3 separate regions of the Homo sapiens genome follow, and all the other regions are linked to region 1. The links are contacts of gene promoters, found by promoter capture Hi-C in human tissues and cell types (Jung and others, 2019). All regions are on one chromosome and are shown on one strand. Each heading gives the region's core, a stretch centred on a gene start or on the middle of the fragment in contact. The rest is flanking DNA. Distances are from core to core; before and after follow the strand shown.

The links. The method cuts DNA at HindIII sites, captures the fragments that hold promoters and counts their contacts. A contact is called where the count stands out against the background at its distance.
Region 2: a contact is called between a fragment that was not itself captured here and the fragment with the promoter of PRSS22 in region 1, in 3 of the 25 tissues and cell types used here (dorsolateral prefrontal cortex, lymphoblastoid cells and mesenchymal stem cells).
Region 3: a fragment that was not itself captured here is called in contact with the fragment with the promoter of PRSS22 in region 1 in 2 of the 25 tissues and cell types used here (small bowel and spleen).

The regions. Positions count from the first base shown.
Region 1 is chr16:2,856,765-2,859,548 of GRCh38, reverse strand. It overlaps PRSS22 (serine protease 22), which reads left to right and starts at 1,379. Exons shown (of 6, transcript NM_022119.4): 1 at 1,379-1,526; 2 at 2,701-2,727. The coding sequence starts at 1,445. RefSeq lists enhancers at 193-792, 793-1,393, 1,394-1,994. The HindIII fragment of the contact is 21,792 bases long and covers 1-2,784 here.
Region 2 is chr16:2,759,549-2,762,332 of GRCh38, reverse strand. It overlaps SRRM2 (serine/arginine repetitive matrix 2), which reads right to left. Exons shown (of 15, transcript NM_016333.4): 9 at 2,672-2,764; 10 at 1,834-2,032; 11 at 1-772. Among named protein-coding and RNA genes, the nearest start is that of SRRM2, 8.3 kb to the right of the region's middle. The HindIII fragment of the contact is 5,652 bases long and covers 1-2,784 here.
Region 3 is chr16:2,940,081-2,942,864 of GRCh38, reverse strand. FLYWCH1 (FLYWCH-type zinc finger 1) reads right to left here. Exons shown (of 10, transcript NM_001308068.2): 9 at 2,773-2,784. The region is part of intron 3 of FLYWCH1-AS1 (FLYWCH1 antisense RNA 1); the gene reads left to right. Among named protein-coding and RNA genes, the nearest start is that of FLYWCH1-AS1, 15 kb to the left of the region's middle. The HindIII fragment of the contact is 8,887 bases long and covers 1-2,784 here.

The DNA of each region.
Region 1 (2,784 bases), core at 130-2,629:
GGCAATGCATGGCACTCCTAAATGTTTGCTCTATTATATAAATACTATATTTATATTTGTATAAATATATTTATTACATACATATTCACTACTATGGTTTTTTTTTTTTTTTTTTGAAACAGAGTCTCGCTCTGTCGCCCAGGCTGGAGTGCAGTGGCGTGATCTCAGCTCACTGCAACCTCCGCCTCCCAGGTTCAAGCGATTCTCCTGCCTCAGCCTCCCAAGTAGATGGGACTAAGGGCGCCTGCCACCATGCCTGGCTAATTTTTTTTTTTTTGTATTTTTAGTAGAGACGGGGTTTTACTATGTTGGCCAGACTGGTATTGAACTCCTGACCTCATGATCTGTCCGTCTTGGCCTCCCAAAGTGCTGGGATTACAGGAATAAGCCACCCCACCCAGACACTATGGTTGTTTTTAATTCACCCCCGGCGGTAGCAAGGGCCCTGCTGGAGGCTTGTTGATCGAATGAGTGAAGGGGCGCAGGCTCCTGCCTCTTTGTAGAGGAGGAAGCCTGCCCTGCTTGGGTGGGAGTGTCCCAAGTGTGGGGCGCTGCAGGGCACTGAGTCAGGGAAGGTCTCACAGGATTCAGCCCCGGGTTGCCACTGTGGCAGCCGCTGGGGGGAAGCACCGAGAATCCACTCCCAGCCCAGGACCCGGCCCCCCACAGCCCAGCCCAGCAGCTCTTTGAATCCTGGGAGTCCCAGCCCTTCCCGGGGCCCCTCTTCTCTCAACCCCCCTGCTTGGCCGAGCCCTGGTGCCCATGGGCTCCTCCCCTTCCCAGGAGTCCAGGTGAGGTGAGTTGTCAGGTGTCTGAACCGCAGGGCAGAGCCCCGCCTCCAGGAACGACAGGAGGGCGGCCACCAGGAGGCCACCAAGGTCGCCACTCACCTGATTCACAGCTTTCGGGAAGTGGGTTAACGGGATTCCCAAGCCCGGGTTGCGCCAGGTCTCTGGGCTGAGTCACAGGGGCCTGGGGCCCTGCAGGTGGGAGCCGTTACTGAGCTTTGGGCACCCCCTTGATCCCTAAGGCCCTAGGACCACCCCCAACACCCAGTACCCCAGACTTCAGCCTCTCCAAACCCAGGCCCTCCCCAGCCCGGAACCCCTTCCTTTCAGTGCCCTGGCACCTTTCTCTGCCCCTGGACAATTAATGTCAGGGACCTCTGGGCCCAAGCCCCCTCCCCTGCCCTTCCAGAGGCCACATCCTGGGGTCTCAGCTAGAGCCCCCCCAGAGCCCTGTAGCGGCTGGCTTCCTCCCCGCAGCCCCGCCCTCTGCCCAGGACCCACAGCCGGGGTGGCCGCGGGAGCCACCTGGGGACTGGTCTGACGGCATTCCGCCTCCCAGGATAAAACCTGGGGCGACCTGCAGGGAACCTACACACCCTGACCCGCATCGCCCTGGGTCTCTCGAGCCTGCTGCCTGCTCCCCCGCCCCACCAGCCATGGTGGTTTCTGGAGCGCCCCCAGCCCTGGGTGGGGGCTGTCTCGGCACCTTCACCTCCCTGCTGCTGCTGGCGTCGACAGGTACGTCCGGAGGCTGCTCCTCCCTCCTCCCTCTCACCTCCACCCTCCTTCCCTCCTTCCCTCCCTCCCTCTCTCCCTCCTGGCCTTGCCTCTCTCATCTCCTTTCCGCTTCTGCTCTGTTTATCTCTTGCTCCTTAACTGCTCTGTGCCTCGGTTTCTTCTACGGCTGTGAGGATGAAACAGAAAACGCAGCAAGTACGCAGCGCGCCTCGGTCTCCAGTTACCGTCGGCGTCGCCATCGCCTGCTCCCTCTCGCCTCCGTGTTCTCCCATCTCCTCGTCCTCCGCTGCTTGCCTCTGGGGAAGCACCGTTTTGTGTTGTTCCTGCCGCAGGAGGTCAGGGGAGGGCACACCAGCGGCAGCAGCGTCCAGAGCCGAGGGGCTCAGGTCTGTGCCTCCCTCGAGGAGCCGGTCCTGGTCCCCGGAAGGCAGGCTGGACGGGAAGCTGCGGGAGGGCAGGGTCACAGCTGTGCAGCCAGGGCCTGGCCAGGCCCCAGGAAATGCCCCGCCGGTAGGGGCCCTGGGGTTGAGAGACTTGAGAGTCTCCCTGGGCACTGGAGGGCTAGAGGTTCCTCACCACCAGGTACTCAAGGGGACCCCCTCCTCACTGGGCGCTGGGACGCCTGCTCACTGGGCGCTGGGACCCCTCCTCACTGGGCGCTGGGACCCCCTCCTCACTGAGCGCTGGGACCCCCTCGTCACTGGGCGCTGGGGACCCCTCCTCACTGGGCGCTGGGGAGCCCTCCTCACTGGGCGCTGGGGACCCCTCCTCACTGGGCGCTGGGGAACCCTCCTCACTAGGCGCTGGGGAGCCCTCCTCACTGGGCGCTGGGGACCCCTCCTCACTGGGTGCTGGGACCCCTTCCCACTGGGCACTGGACCCCTTCTCACTGGGTGCTGGGGGCTTCTCGCTGGGCGCTGAGGGACCCTCCTCACTGGGTACTGGGACCCCTCCTCACTGGGCGCTGAGGGACCCTCCTCAGGGGGTGCTGGGACCCCTCCTCACTGGGCGCTGAGGGACCCTCCTCACTGGGTGCTGGGACCTCCACCTCACTGGGCACTGGGATCCCTTCTTACTGGGTGTTGGGGGCCTTCCTCACTGGGCGTTGAGGGCCCCTCACCACTGTGTCCTGGGGCCCCTCACCGGCCTAACCGTTTCCTTCTCTTGCCCTCAGCCATCCTCAATGCGGCCAGGATACCTGGTGAGTGGAGCTGGCAGCTCTGACGGGAGGGAGAAGGGAGGAGGCCCACGCGCAGGC
Region 2 (2,784 bases), core at 92-2,591, 97 kb after region 1:
GCCTGGTGGGAGTTCTGGATCGTGATCTCCGCCTGGCAGGTGTTCTAGAGCGGGACCTGCCCCGGCGGGCTGGTGTTCTAGAACGAGATCTACCCCTAGTGGCTGGGGATCTAGAGTGGGACCTCCCTCGCCTTGCTGACCTAGACCTGCCTCTTCTCTGGGTATTTCTGCTCCTAGACCAGCCTGGTCGCTGAGGAGACCTAGAGCGGCCACGTCGCTGGGGGCTTCTAGATCTTCCCCACCTCTGTGCAGACCTGGACCTACGCCACTGGGGAGATCGGGATCGAGAATGACCTCTCTTGGTAGGGGTTCGAGACCGAGATCGCCCTCTCTTAGCGGTGGCAGGGCTACGGGACCTCCCCATCCTACGGGAGGGGGTATGAGAATGTGATTTATCCCGTTTTGCTCGGCCATGTGAGCGATTCTTAGATGTGGGAGAAGAAGAAATCTCTCGGTGGGACCCTGGAGCTGGAGCAGGTTTAGGACTTTCTGGGGAAGAGCTGGCATGCCGAGAAACTTTGGTAGGTTGAGGGGATGGTGGGCTGCTCTCTGAGGAAGAAGACTGGGGAAGTTTCTCGGGAGACTTAGGTGGTGAACGGTCCCGAGTTGGAGAGGCCTCAGATGGGGGGTTCACTGGCTCCTGGCTTAAGGGGGTGGTTGCAAGGGGTTGTGGGGAGCCGCCATGTCGCTCAGCAAGGAGCGGAGTGGGAGCAGGTGGTTCTGGGCCTGTGCTGCTCCTTTCCGGAGAGGGGCTAGGTCGAGTTGCAGATTTCTAAGAGTGGAAGAGAGAGCAGGGATAGGGATTCATAAACGCCAAAACTTCACATCACCCCTAAGATCCCAACACCCTTTCCAATGATAACTTTTCTTTTACACACCCTCTGACCACAAGCGATCACTTTCATTCAATAACAAGGAATCATATAAAGCACAGTGGTGAAAACATATGAATATATGGATAGCCAGAATCTTAAAACTAAAAGAAACACAAAATGCAAATAACTAATGCACTACTACATTTAACAAATACCACTACAAAATGTTATAAGAATGGAAAAAAACTATCTTTAAATGGAAAAATAAGCAGTTTCCTAAAGCGAATGGCAACTTCACCTTTGAAGAATAACTCTATTAAACGAAAAGAAACAGCATGAATAAAGATGTGAGAACATGATTTGTGTGAAGAGTAAAAAAGCAGCCCAGGATGGGTAGAGTACAGGAAATGAGAAAAAGACCAGACTATTAAAAGCCTTAAATATAATTCAAAAGCAATAAGGAAGTAGTTAAGTTTCTGAGGTCAACCAACTTGTAATTTGGAAAGGTAACCCTGGATGACATGGAAAATTGATGATAGAGGCCAAGAATTCAGACTGTAATCACTAAAGCAAGAGGAAATGATTAATGCTTAAAATTGGAACAGAAGACTACTGAAGACTATTTCAGTGTTTCATTCAAACTATTGGTGGCAACGCAATGGATTAAAAAGTTTTGGTGAGACATGACCAGCATTTAATGAAAAAAGAGAAGAAACTAGAGGCATCATACGGAGTACACAGATAAGATACAACGTTTGTTCCAGTTCTATCTATGTATAAACAAGACACAATATAAAACCTAACATCCAGTGAGATTTGATTCTAAAGGGTTCACAATTCAGTCTAGTAACAACACTAAAAGTTCTGCAGATGCAGTAAGAGAACTAGGAGAGAAATGCAGGAAAAAAAACTGAATTTATTTATTTTAATAAGTTATTACCTCTCCCTTTCACATCACATGTCTATCCTAAATCTATACATTTGCAATCCAATGAACATCACCAACTCAGGAACATACCTCCTTCTTGTCTTTATCTTTGTCTTCATAAGGGCTGCTAGGCTGTTTCGTAGCAGTCTCCGGGCTACTAGGCCGTTGTGTGCTGGTAGTACCTGGTTCACTGAAAGGCGCATCTCCCTCCCCGCGTCGCCCTGAAGCAGGGGAAGGACTTCGCCCAGCCAAGGCAGTTGTATGAGTTTTAGCTGCAGCACTTCGAGACCTGCAGGAGTTAATTGAGGACGTGGGAGAGGAAGGAAATCAGCTCAAAGGGAGAACAGAAAACCCCCTCCCCAACTCCCATCCACCTTTCCTAACTGGACAACCCTCTTCCAAAAAGCCTTTAGTCGCACAACTCAAATCATTCACTGAAATGCAAGTACAGTCCACTTTGGTTCTTCTTTTCCCAACACAATCCCAAAGAGCGTTCTCCCTCTACCCCTTTACTCACCTCCCCCAAACATCCCCAAACCATCCACCCAGCCCACTCCCTACCCGCTTCATTCACAACTCACCTCTGAGCCCACCTCCTTCAGGAAGCCTTCCCCGATTAAGGAAGCCAGGGTAAGGATTCCTTCCTCCCCCAGACACCACGAACAAACCACCACCCCCCCTATTCTGGCAGTCCATATACATCAGAACGAAACAAAAATAACAAATAAACAAAAACAAAAAAAAAAAGAGAAGGGGAAATGTATATGTCTGTCCATCCTGTTGCTTTAGCCTGTCAGCTCCTAGAGGGCAGGGACCGTGTCTTCCGAATGGTCTGTGCAGCGCCTAGCACACCGTGGGCGCTCAATAAATATTAAATTAATTAACCCATCATTCCCTCTCCCTCCCTTCCTCCTGGACTACCCCTTACCGACTGCGGGAAGTATCGGAGGAGGAAGCAGAGTCAGCAGAAGTTGAACGGTGGGCCCGGCGGCTCTTGGGGGCTGGTGTTGTACTTCGAGACCTGAAGGAAGACCACCACCA
Region 3 (2,784 bases), core at 198-2,697, 83 kb before region 1:
CTGAGCGTGGTGGTGCGCACTTCTAATCCCAGCTACCTGGGATCACTCACAGTGATCTTGCAGTGAGCCAAGATCACACCACTGCACTCCAGCCTGGGCGACAGAGTGAGACTCCGTCTCAAAAAAAAAAAAAAAAAAAAAAAAGTTCCCAGATGCCAGCCAAGGGTGAACCTTGCACACAGGCTGTTCTTAGGGCAGCAGTCTCAGGCCTGCTGTGTTACATTAATTGGTTTTGCATGTTGATGCATTCCTGGGATAAATCTTACTTGGTCATGGTATATAATCCTTTTTTATGTTGCTGGATTCTGTTTGCTGGTATTCTACGTTCCTAAGAAATACTGGTCTGTAGTTTTCTCTTTGTGATTCCTTTGCTTGGTTTTGATATCAGGGTGATACTGGTCTTAGAGAATGAGCTGGGGCCAAGCATTGCGGCTCATGCTTGTAATGCCAGCACTTTGGGAGGCCAAGGCAGGTGGACTGATTGAGCCCAGGAGTTGGAGACCAGCCTGGACAACATGGGAAAACCCCGTTTCTACTAAAAATAGAAAAATTAGCCAGGCGTGGTGGTGCGTGCATGTAGTCCCAGCTACTCAGGAGGGTGAGGTTCAAGTGAGCTGAGATGGCACCACTGCACTCCAGCCTGGGTGTCAGAATGAGACTCTGCCAGAATGAGGTCCATAGTAAGGTCTCATCTTTATTCCTGATTTTAGTATTTTCAGTATTCTTGCTTTTCAATTTTTTTGATCTGTAGATAGAGCTAAATATTTGTCAATTTTATTGATCCTTATACAGAACCAACTTTTGGTTTCATTTATTATTTATTTCCTTCCTTCTGCTTCAGTTTTTTTTTTTTTTTTTTTTTTTTTTTTGAGATGAGTCTTGCTCTGTCGCCCAGGCTGGAGTGCAGTGGCGCAATCTCGACTCACTGCAACCTCCACCTCCTGGGTTCAAGCAATTCTCCTGCTACAGGCTCCCACCACCACGCCTGGCTAATTTTTCTATCTTTAGTAGAGATGGGGTTTCACCATGTTGGTCAGGCTGGTCTTGAACCCGTGGTCTCGTGATCTACCTCCCTCGGTCTCCCAGTGTGCTGGGATTACAGGTGTGAGCCACCACGCCCAGACTTTTAGTTCTTTTTTTTTTAGTTTTTCTATTTTTTGTGGAGATGAGGTCTTGCCCATGCTAGTATGGAACTCCTGGGCTCAAGCGATCCTCCCACCCTAGCCACCCAAAATGCTAGGATTACAGGTGTGAGCCACCATGCTTGGCCCTGTTTATTCATTTAGAGATGGGATCTTGCTCTGTCTCCCAGGCTGGAGTGCAGTGGTACAATCATGCTTCACTGCAGCCTCAATCTCCCAGGTTCAAGCGATACTACCAGCACATGCTACCATGACTGGCTGAGTTTTTGGCAGAGACGAGGTCTCACCATGTTGCCCAGGCTTCTTCCTTTTTAATAGAAGTGTTTTTAGCTATAGATTTCCCTCTAAGCACGGCTTTCAGTGCATCCCATAAGTTTTATTTCAAAGTATTTTATAATTATCTTCTTTGGCTCATTGTTTTGTTTGTTTTAAATTACACACAGGGTCATGCTCTGTTGCCCCAACTGGTTTCAAACTCCTGGGCTCAAGTGATCCTCCTGCCTCTGCCTCCCAGAGTGTTGAGATTACAGGCGTGAGCCACCATGCCCAGTCTGACTCACTGGTTTCTTATAAGTGTGTTCTTTAATTTCTACGTATTTCTGAGTTTCCCAAATTTCTCTGTTTTTGATTTGGTTTTTGTTTGTCACCTAGGCTGGAGTGCAGTGGCACAATCTTGGCTCACTGCAACCTCTGCCTCCCGAATAGCTTGGATTACATGCATGTACCACCATGCCTGACTAATTTTTGTATTTTTAGTAGAGATGGGGTTTCACCATGTTGGCCAGGCTGGTCTCGAACTCCTGACCTCAAATGATCTGCCTGCCTTGGCCTCCCAAAGTGCTGGAATTACAAATGATCTGCCTGCCTTGGCCTCCCAAAGTGCTGGAATTACAGGTATGAGCCACTGTATCCAGCCGTGAAAGGACTGAAATGATACAAAGTATGTTCTTTGACCATAGTGGGATGTAATTACAAACCAATAACAAGGCTGGGCACAGTGGCTCTTGCCTGTAATCCCAGCACTCGGGAGACCCGAGACAGGAGGATCATTTGAGGTCAGAAGTTTGAGACTCAGCCTGGCCACCATGATAAAACCCTATCTCTACTGCAAATACAAAAATCAGCTCGGTGTGGTGGTACATGCCTGTAATCCCAGCTACTCAGGGGGCTGAGACAGGAGAATTGCTTGAACCCGGAAGGTAGAGTTTGCAGTGAGCTGAGATCATGCCGCTGTACTCCAGCCTGGGCCACACACAGACTCCATCTCAAAAAATAAAATAATGGACTCTTGCTTTATGGCCTGGCTGTGGTTGAGAAGAACCTGAATTCTGCTGCTGGCAGCTTCCCTCTTGTTCTCTCTCTGTCCCATGGCTGTCATGTGAAGGATGCTCAAGTGGGCCCAAGGAGGGGTCCCTATGGTGAGGAGCAGGGCCTCCAGCCTCACTTGGGCCTTCAGATGACTGCCACCCTGGCTGACAAATTCTCTTCAACCTCAGGAGTCAGAACCACCCAGCCCAACCACTCCCATAATGTTGACCCACAAAAGCTGAGACAGCAAATATTTGTTGTTTTAAGCCCACTACGTTTTGTTGTAATTGGTCATGCACCATTAGATAACAAATACAATTACCCATAAATCTGC